3 separate regions of the Homo sapiens genome follow, and all the other regions are linked to region 3. The links are contacts of gene promoters, found by promoter capture Hi-C in human tissues and cell types (Jung and others, 2019). All regions are on one chromosome and are shown on one strand. The core of a region is centred on a gene start or on the middle of the fragment in contact, and the rest is flanking DNA. Distances in the headings are between cores, read along the strand shown.

Region 1 (2,864 bases), core at 82-2,581, 640 kb before region 3:
CTCCCACCTCAGCCTCCCGAGTAGCTGGGACTACAGTTGTGCACCATCATGCCCAGCTAATTAAAAAAAAATTTTTTTTTGAGTCAGAGTCTTGCTCTGTTGCCCAGGCTGGAGTGCAGTGGTGCAATCTCGGCTCACTGCAAGCTCTGTCTCCCAGGTTCACGCCATTCTCCTGCCTCAGCCTCCCGAGTAGCTGGGACTACAGGCACCCACCACCATACCTTGCTAATTTTTTGTATTTTTCATAGAGATGGGGTTTCACTGTGTTAGCCAGGATGGTCTCAATCTCCTGACCTTGTGATCTGCGCACCTCGGCCTCCCAAAGTGCTGGCATTACAGGCGTGAGCCACCACGCCTGGCCCCTAAAATTTTTTTGTAGAGATGGGGGTCTCACTATGTTGTCCAGGCTGGTCTCGAACTTGTGACCTCAAGTAGTCCTCCTGCCTTGGCCTCCCAAAGTTTTGGGATTATAGGCATGAGCCATCATGCCTGGCTTCATTGTAATTAAAACAACAACAACAAAAAAACCTTTTCTGAAAGGAAGAGTTCTTTGTGAATACTGAGGGTTATCTTTTTAAAAGGAAAAAACTGAAAGGGAAAGCTTTCATAATAAAAAGTCATAATTTTTAAAAAAAGGAGGCCAGGCACAGTGGCTCACGCCTGTAATCCCAGCACTTTGGGAGGCCAAGGCGGGTGGATCACGAGGTCAGGAGATCGAGACCATCCTGGCTAACAAGGTGAAACCTTGTCTCTACTAAAAATACAAAAAATTAGCCAGGCGTGGTGGTGGGAGCCTGTAGTCCCAGCTACTCGGGAGGCTGAGGCAGGAGAATGGCGTGAACCTGGGAGGTGGAGCTTGCAGTGAGCTAATATCGTGCCACTGCACTCCAGCCTGGGTGACGGAGCGAGACTCCATCTCAAAAAAAAAAAAAAAAAAAAAAAAGGAAGAGGGCCAGGTGCAATGGTTCACGCCTGTAATCCCAGCACTTTGGGGAGCTGAGGTAGGCAGATCACTTGAGGTCAGGAGTTCGAGACCAGCCTGGCCAACTTGGCGAAACCCTGTCTCTACTAAAAATACAAAAATTGGCCAGGTGTGGTGGCACACGTCTGTAATCCCACTGGCTGGGGCAAGATAATTGCTTGAACCTGGGAGGCGGAGGTTGCAGTGAGCTGAGATCATGTCACTGCACTCCAGCCTGGGTGACAGAGCAAGGCTCTGTCTCAGAAAAAAAAACAAAACGGTACCTTATCAAGGAAGCTAGGTGGGAAATGATCCCAGAGACTCTTCATTCTCTGGCTGGATCCAGTGAAGTGGCAAAGGTAAAACATCAAGCAGAGAGCCTATCCACAGAAGAAACTCAACAAATGCTGATTCCTTCCCGCCTCCCTTCCTCAGAGTTGTATTAACTTATCTCTGTGTGGAAGACAGAAACACACTCATCATACCATTCCCCGCCATCATCTCCTCTTGAGGATCCTTTGGGACATTTTCTTCCCGCGCAGCCTCGAGGGAGCACTCTTCTGAAGCGTGTCTCAAACGCTCGGGGTCTGCTCTCTTGAACTGCTGCATTCGCTGTAGGACCAATTGTGCTGTGCGGGGTTTGGAGGGACTTGGCACTGCTGTTGTCAAACAGGAAGGAGGAGGCTGGGAGTCGCTGTTGGGCACATTCTCTGGCAAGGAGGAAAATATTCACAACCATCTGTTGTAGCTGGAGAAATAAAAGACTTTTCTACCAGATACAGGTTAGACGCAAGTTTCAAGAGTCCTTTATCAACTAGTTTAGGTTTGACTCACAAATGTGAAGAGGACTGGTTGCTTGTTGGTAACCTCTTTGTTTATGGCAATATAGACATAAATATCAATAACAGGAGGGGAATGGGATGTGACTGCTAATGAGCATGGGGTTTATTTTTAGGATGATAAAACTGTTCTAACGTTAGGTAGTGGTGGTGGTTGGACAAGTCTGTGAATATACTAAAAACCACTGAACCATACCCTTTTAAATGGTGAATTTTATGGAATATCAATTATACCCCAATAAAGCTATTATTAAAGAAATATTAATGACAAAGGTTTATGTCCTAGATCAGTTCTTCTTTAACTTGGGATCCACGGATGATCTTCAGTGGGGATCCATGAACCCCATGAAGTTGTGTGCCAGTTTTGCAGATACGCGCATGGATACGTGTTTTGGGGGAACCATGCATAGATTTCATCCGACTGGCAAAGAGCACGAGAGACCAGTAAAGTTGGTGAGGCAACACTGCTGATGCCTTCCAGTAGTCTATGCGACCTGAGACTCTACCACCACTCTACTGAGAGGTTATTAAGATCAGGAAGTGAGGGCAAAGGAAATTTAGAAACAGAACTCAGGAGCTCAGAGAGCCCATGGTGTATTATATATGCAAGGGTAGTTTTCAGTTTTGCATGAAGAATGTGTAGTAAGCATATAGCTCAGTATACCAAGGGCAGCAGGGCAAGAAAACTGCTTTAAACAGTTAAAAAATTATCCAGGCACGGTGGTGGGTGCCTGTGGTCCCAGCTACTCGGGAGGCTGAGGCAGGGAGGACTGCTTGAACCTGGGAGGTCAAGGCTGCAGTAAGCTATGATAGCACCACTGCACTCCAGCCTGGGTGAGAGACCAAGATCCTGTCTCTAAAAACTAAGTAAGTAAATAAATCAATAACAATAACAAAGGAAAAGATTAAAAGGTCTTCAGAGAGAGAAAGAAAGAACCTGAAGATTCTCCTGGGACTTGAGCCCACACAGAGTCCTCATGCGGCCCTCTCAGCAGCCTATCCAAATTGGCTGGCCCAGTCCAACTTACCCACTTTGGAATAAATTCAAGAAAACAAGAGAAGCA
Region 2 (2,700 bases), core at 144-2,643, 610 kb before region 3:
AATCCTAACCGCAGGTGATCTGCCCACCTCGGCCTCCCAAAGTGCTGGCTTGCAGGCGTGAGCCACCACGCCCAGCCCTTGTTTGTTTTTTGTTGTGTGTGTGTGTGTGTGTGTTTGTTGTTGTTTTGTTTTTTGTTGTTTTTGTTGTTGTTGTTTTTGAGACGGGGTCTCACTTTGTTACCCAGACTGGAGTGCAGTTGCGTGATCACAGCTCGCTGCAGCCTCGACCTCCCAGGCTCAAAACGATCTTCCCACCTTGGCGCCCCAAGTAGCTGGGACCACAGGCACACGCCACCACACCTGGCTAATTTTTGTACTTTTTTGTAGAGACAGGTTTTCTCCATGTTGCCCAGGTTGGCCTTGAACTCCAAAGCTCAGACATCTGCCCACCTCAGTCTCCCAAAGTCTGGGATTACGGGCATGAGCCACTGTTTCTGGCTATTTCTCCCTTCAATTCTGTCAGTTTTGCTTTATATATTTTGATGGTCTGTTATTAGTTGTAATCTGTTTATAATTTTATCTTCTTGCTGTATTGAACCTTTATATAATGTCCTTTTTTAATCTTTTTTTTAAATTTAAAGTCTCTTTTGTCTTATAGTAATAGAGCCCTGCTCTCTTTTGGTTAGTGTTTGCATGGAATATGTTTTTCCATCCTTTGACTTTCAATCTAGTTGTGTCTTTGGATCTAAAGTGATTCTTTTTTGTAGTCCCAGTTACTTGGGAGGATGAGGCAGGAGGATTGCTTAAGCCCAGGAGTTCAAATCTAGCCTGAGCAACATAGAGAGACCCTGTCTCTCTAAAAATAAAAGTAAAAATAAAAAAGTAAGTTTCTTATAGATGGCATATAATTGGGTAATGTAGTTTTTTTCCACGTTGCCAATCTCTGTCTTCTGATTGGAGAGTTTAATCAATTTACACTTAGTTACTGATCAGGAAAGACTTATGTCATTTTGCTGTTTCTTTTCTATATACCTTATAGGATTTTATTTATTTATTTTTTTAGAGATGGAGTTTTGCTGTCACCCAGGCTGGAGTGCAGTGGTGCAATCTTGGCTCACTGCAACCTCCGCCTCCTGAGTTCAAGCGATTCTCCTGCCTCAGCTTCCCAAGTAGCTGGGACTACAGGCGCATGCCATCACACCCAGCTAATTTTTTGGGTTTTTTTGTTGGTTTTGTTTTTGAGACAGAGTCTTGGTCTGTTGCCCAGACTGGAGTGCAGTGGCAATCTTGACTCACTGCAACCAACCTCTGCCTCCCAGATTCAAGGAATTTTCCTGCCTCAGCCTCCCTAGTAGCTGGGACTACAAGTGCCCCCCACCACACCCAGCTAATTTTTGTATTTTTAGTAGAGAAAGGGTTTCACCATATTGGTCAGGCTGGTCTCGAACTACTAACCTCAGGTGATCCACCTGCCTCGGCCTCCCAAAGTGCTGAGATTACAGGTGTGAGCCACTGTGCCCAGCCACCTTATAGGTTTTTTTGTTTTGTTTTGTTTTTAAATTGAGACGGAGTCTCGCTCTGTTGCCCAGGCTGGAGTGCAGTGGCATGATCTCAGGTCACTGCAACCTCTACCTCCCAGGTTCAAGGGATCGTCCTGCCTCAGCCCCCTAGTAGTGGGATTATAAGCACGCACTACCATGCCCGGCTAATTTTTGTGTTTTTAGTAGAGATGGGGTTTTGCCGTGTTGGGCAGGCTGGTCTTGAACTCCTGACCTCAGGTGATCCACCCACCTCGGCCTCCCAAAGTGCTGAGATTACAGGCATGAGCCACTGTACCCGGCCATGGATTTTAAAATCTCTAATTACCTGCATTATTGTCTTCTTTTGTGTTTAGCTGGAGTTTTGTAGGTTTTCTTTTTTCTTTTTGTAGTAACATGTTTAACTATTTTCTCATTTTATTTTGTGTAACATTGTAATTTGAATTTATAGCAGCGTAATTTCAGTAACATGCAAAAATTCTGCTTCTTTATAGCTTCATCTCCACCCCTTTCAGTTGTCACAAAATTACATTATTATATACTGTGTGTCCCAAAACATAAACTCATAATTGTTTAAATGCATTAGTCTGCTAAGGCGTGTTTTATGGACCCGAATGTGATCTATCTTGGTGAATGTTCCATGTGAGCTTTAGAGGAATGTGTATCCTGCTGCTGTTGGATGAAGTGCTCTATAGATGTCAATTCTGTCTGGTTGCTTGATGGTGCTGTTGAGTTCATTATGTCCTTACTGATTTTCTGCCTGCTGGATCTGTCCACTTTGATAGATTGATGTTGAAGTTTCCAACTATAATAGTGAATTCATCTGCTTTTCCTTGCAGTTCTTAGTTTTTGCTTTGAGGATTTTGATGCTCTGTTGTTAGGCGTATACACATAAGGTTTGTTACCTCATCTTAGAGAAATACTCCTTTATAATTTTGTAATGTCCTTTTTCTATCCCTGATAATTTTCCTTGCTCTGAAGTCTGCTCTGCCTGAAATTAGTATAGCCACTGGGACTTTCTTTTTGATTCCTGCTATGTCTTTTTCCATCTCTTTAATTTTTTCTCTCTTTTTTTTTTTTTTAAAGACGAGAGTTTCACTCTTGTTGCCCAGGCTGGAGTGCAGTAGCTTGATCTCAGCTCCCTGCAACCTCCAACTCCTGGGTTCAAGCAATTCTCCTGCCTCAGCCTCCTAAGTAGCTGAGATTACAGGCATCTGCCACC
Region 3 (2,700 bases), core at 188-2,687:
TCCAGATGACCAGTTCCCTCGGTGGGAGGAAAGATAAAGGATGTCCCTAAAAGGCCAAAAATTCCTGGGGCCCAGTGTGTAGCAGCCCAGCAGCTGGGGCTGGGGGGCAGCACAGGAGCGGCCACGAAGGGAGAGGGTGGCAGCGGCTTGGGGCTCCGGATCCAATTACGCGGCTGTTTCCATACTTAGCCGCCTGACAGCCGCCTGGAATACTCAGCACTCAAGCCGCTGCAGCCCTGCAGAGCCCAAATTAACTCAAGGACAGACAAGGGCAGGGCCCAGCAGCACATGCAGTGGCTGGAGCCCCCCACCTTACATCTTGAGTCCCCGAGAAATAGCTTTTGTTCCCACCCACTGCCTGCTCTCCCTGCAGGGACTGTGCCCCTGCAACCCCCTATTCAACCTCAAAGACCTGAGAGGCTGGACTCTGGGCCTCTCCAGTCCCAGGTACGGACCTAGGCTCAGAGCCCAGCTTGGGGGAAGACTGCCGAGTCATGAAAAGACTCGGTGGGCAGTCCGGATCCTAGGGGGATCCCCGGAGCACCTCCCTAAAAGCATTCCCTCGGGGAACCTGGCCTCAGGAACCTTAGGAACAAGAGAGGTGGCAAAACAATCTGGCATCTCCTCCATAGCCTATAGATAACCCCCATGCTGCAACCCAAGCCACCACCTCTGCTACCCAAAGTGCTGAGATGTCAAAGGGAAGCCTCAGCACACAGAGCCAAGCCCCTTTTCTGATGGAAGCCCCCACCCCGAGCAGAGGCTCTACTCCAGAACGGGCCCCGTTCCTCTTCTGAATTGCATCCAATGCTGTTTCCAGCCCAACCGCCAACTCTATTTCCGATCTTATCCCAAACCAATTCCAATTCTATCTCACTGCTCCCAAAACGGTCCCCACCTTTGCCCACTGTATCCCCTTCTGTCCACGCAAACCCAGTTCTCTTACCCGAGTGGGGCCTCCGCCTTATATCCCACCAGGTGGGAGGGTCACCTCAACGACCTCCAGCTCCCAGACTGTGCTATTTTGTCCGTCTCAGAGGCTCCCCCGTCTCGACTTTGAGGGCCCTCTTTCCCACATCTACTGGCCAGACTCCTCTCTGACCCTGGCTCACAGCTCAGCTCTGTTTGCCGTTCCCACTTCCTCTGGCCTTCCTGAGGGCCCCGCAACTGTGCTGCTATTCTCCAGCACCCAGCTCTTTCTCTGAGGCCCCAGGCCCGGGGAAAAGAGAAGGGTAAGAAGACACCAGCCAAGAGCCAGGGTTTGCCATCAGCCCCGACCCCCTACCCAACCCATGGTAGACAGAAAACCTTGGAGGAAGCGTGGGGGACCAGTCTGGGCTGGGTCATGCTGGGAGGGGCCCTACCTGCTTGTCCTGAGAACAGGAGCGAGGCCAGGAGGCAGCCGAGCAGGACCAGCGCCCTCATGGTGACTGCCAAGAGAGCCCAGCTGCTCCTCGCCTCTATTTATACGGCCGGCCGTGGCAGCAGGCGGTGGAGGGGGGAGAGGGGTCACACAGTCACCAGGGCAACTAGGAGGGTGTGATGGGGAAGAAGCCCGGACCCCAGAAGGCTGTGCAGAGGCTCAGGCTGCGCCACTGCTGTCCCAGCTGCCAGGCCCCAGAAGGCAGGGCCGTGGCTGGATTCTCTTCCCCCGAACCCCTGCAGCCCTGGGATCACATGACATGGGTCACAGGGCGTGGGTGACAGGCATAAAATGGAGCATCCCTTGGGCTCAGGCGGTGGAGCTGGGAAGCTGAGTCTTCCCAGAACTTGCAATAACTTGACCTGAAGTCTCGGCAGGTTAAGGACCTTGACACGCCTGCACTGGAAGGAGGAAGTTGTAAGGCCACGCAAAAGAAATCCTATTTAACAGCCACTGATCCACATGCTAGAGAGTGGTCAGCTACGGCAAACCCGCAACATGTGACCTCTGAGGTCCAAGGCTGCAGCCCTGGAACAACCTTCCCAGCCTCTGGAAGAGAGAGAGCACAGACCAGAGGGAGAGGGGCACACTGAGACACAAGCTGAGGCTACGGTGTAAACTGGAGGATGGAGCAACAGATATCCATTTCCAATGGCCCAGGGGTTCCAGAACATTCAGTCACCTCTGCAAAGTGCTTTTTTGTTTATTTGTTTTTGATAGAGGATCTCGCTCTGTCACCCAGGCTGGACTGCAGTGGCACAATCATCACTCACTGCACTCGACCTCCCAGGCTCAATCAATCCTCCCAACTCAGCCTCCCAAGTAGCTAGGACAGTAGTGCCACCATGCTGTACTAATTTTTTAAAATTTTTTGTAGATGGCCCAGAGAGCCAGTTGTAAGAAGCCAAGGGAAAGCAGACACTTGCTTGTCTGGTCGGGGTACAGTGTCACTGTGTGGGGAAGAGGTAGAAGCCAGCCTTGGAGGAAAGGAACTAAATCAGGGCCAGGCACAGTGGCTCACACCTGTAATCCCAGCACTTTGGGAGGCCGAGGCGGGTGGATCACCTGAGGTCAGGAGATTGAGACCAGCCTGGCCAACATGGTGAAACCCCATCTCCACTAAAAATACAAAAATTACTGGGTGTGGTGGCGGGTGCCTATAATCCCAGCTCCTCAGGAGGCTGAGGCAGGAGAATCACTTGATCCCAGGAGGCGAAGGTTGCCATGAGCCAAGATTGCACCACTGACTCTAGCCTGGGCAACAGAGCGAGACTCTG

The links. The method cuts DNA at HindIII sites, captures the fragments that hold promoters and counts their contacts. A contact is called where the count stands out against the background at its distance.
Region 1: a fragment that was not itself captured here is called in contact with the fragment with the promoter of SRL in region 3 in 1 of the 25 tissues and cell types used here (dorsolateral prefrontal cortex).
Region 2: a contact is called between a fragment that was not itself captured here and the fragment with the promoter of SRL in region 3, in 1 of the 25 tissues and cell types used here (dorsolateral prefrontal cortex).

What each region holds. Positions count from the first base shown.
Region 1 is chr16:3,605,028-3,607,891 of GRCh38, forward strand. It overlaps SLX4 (SLX4 structure-specific endonuclease subunit), which reads right to left. Exons shown (of 15, transcript NM_032444.4): 3 at 1,447-1,671. Among named protein-coding and RNA genes, the nearest start is that of SLX4, 5.1 kb to the right of the region's middle. The HindIII fragment of the contact is 4,547 bases long and covers 1-2,864 here.
Region 2 is chr16:3,630,041-3,632,740 of GRCh38, forward strand. It overlaps a transcript of DNASE1 not described here. Among named protein-coding and RNA genes, the nearest start is that of SLX4, 20 kb to the left of the region's middle. The HindIII fragment of the contact is 7,090 bases long and covers 1-2,700 here.
Region 3 is chr16:4,240,643-4,243,342 of GRCh38, forward strand. It overlaps SRL (sarcalumenin), which reads right to left and starts at 1,438. Exons shown (of 6, transcript NM_001098814.2): 1 at 1,365-1,438. The coding sequence starts at 1,425. The HindIII fragment of the contact is 19,223 bases long and covers 1-2,700 here.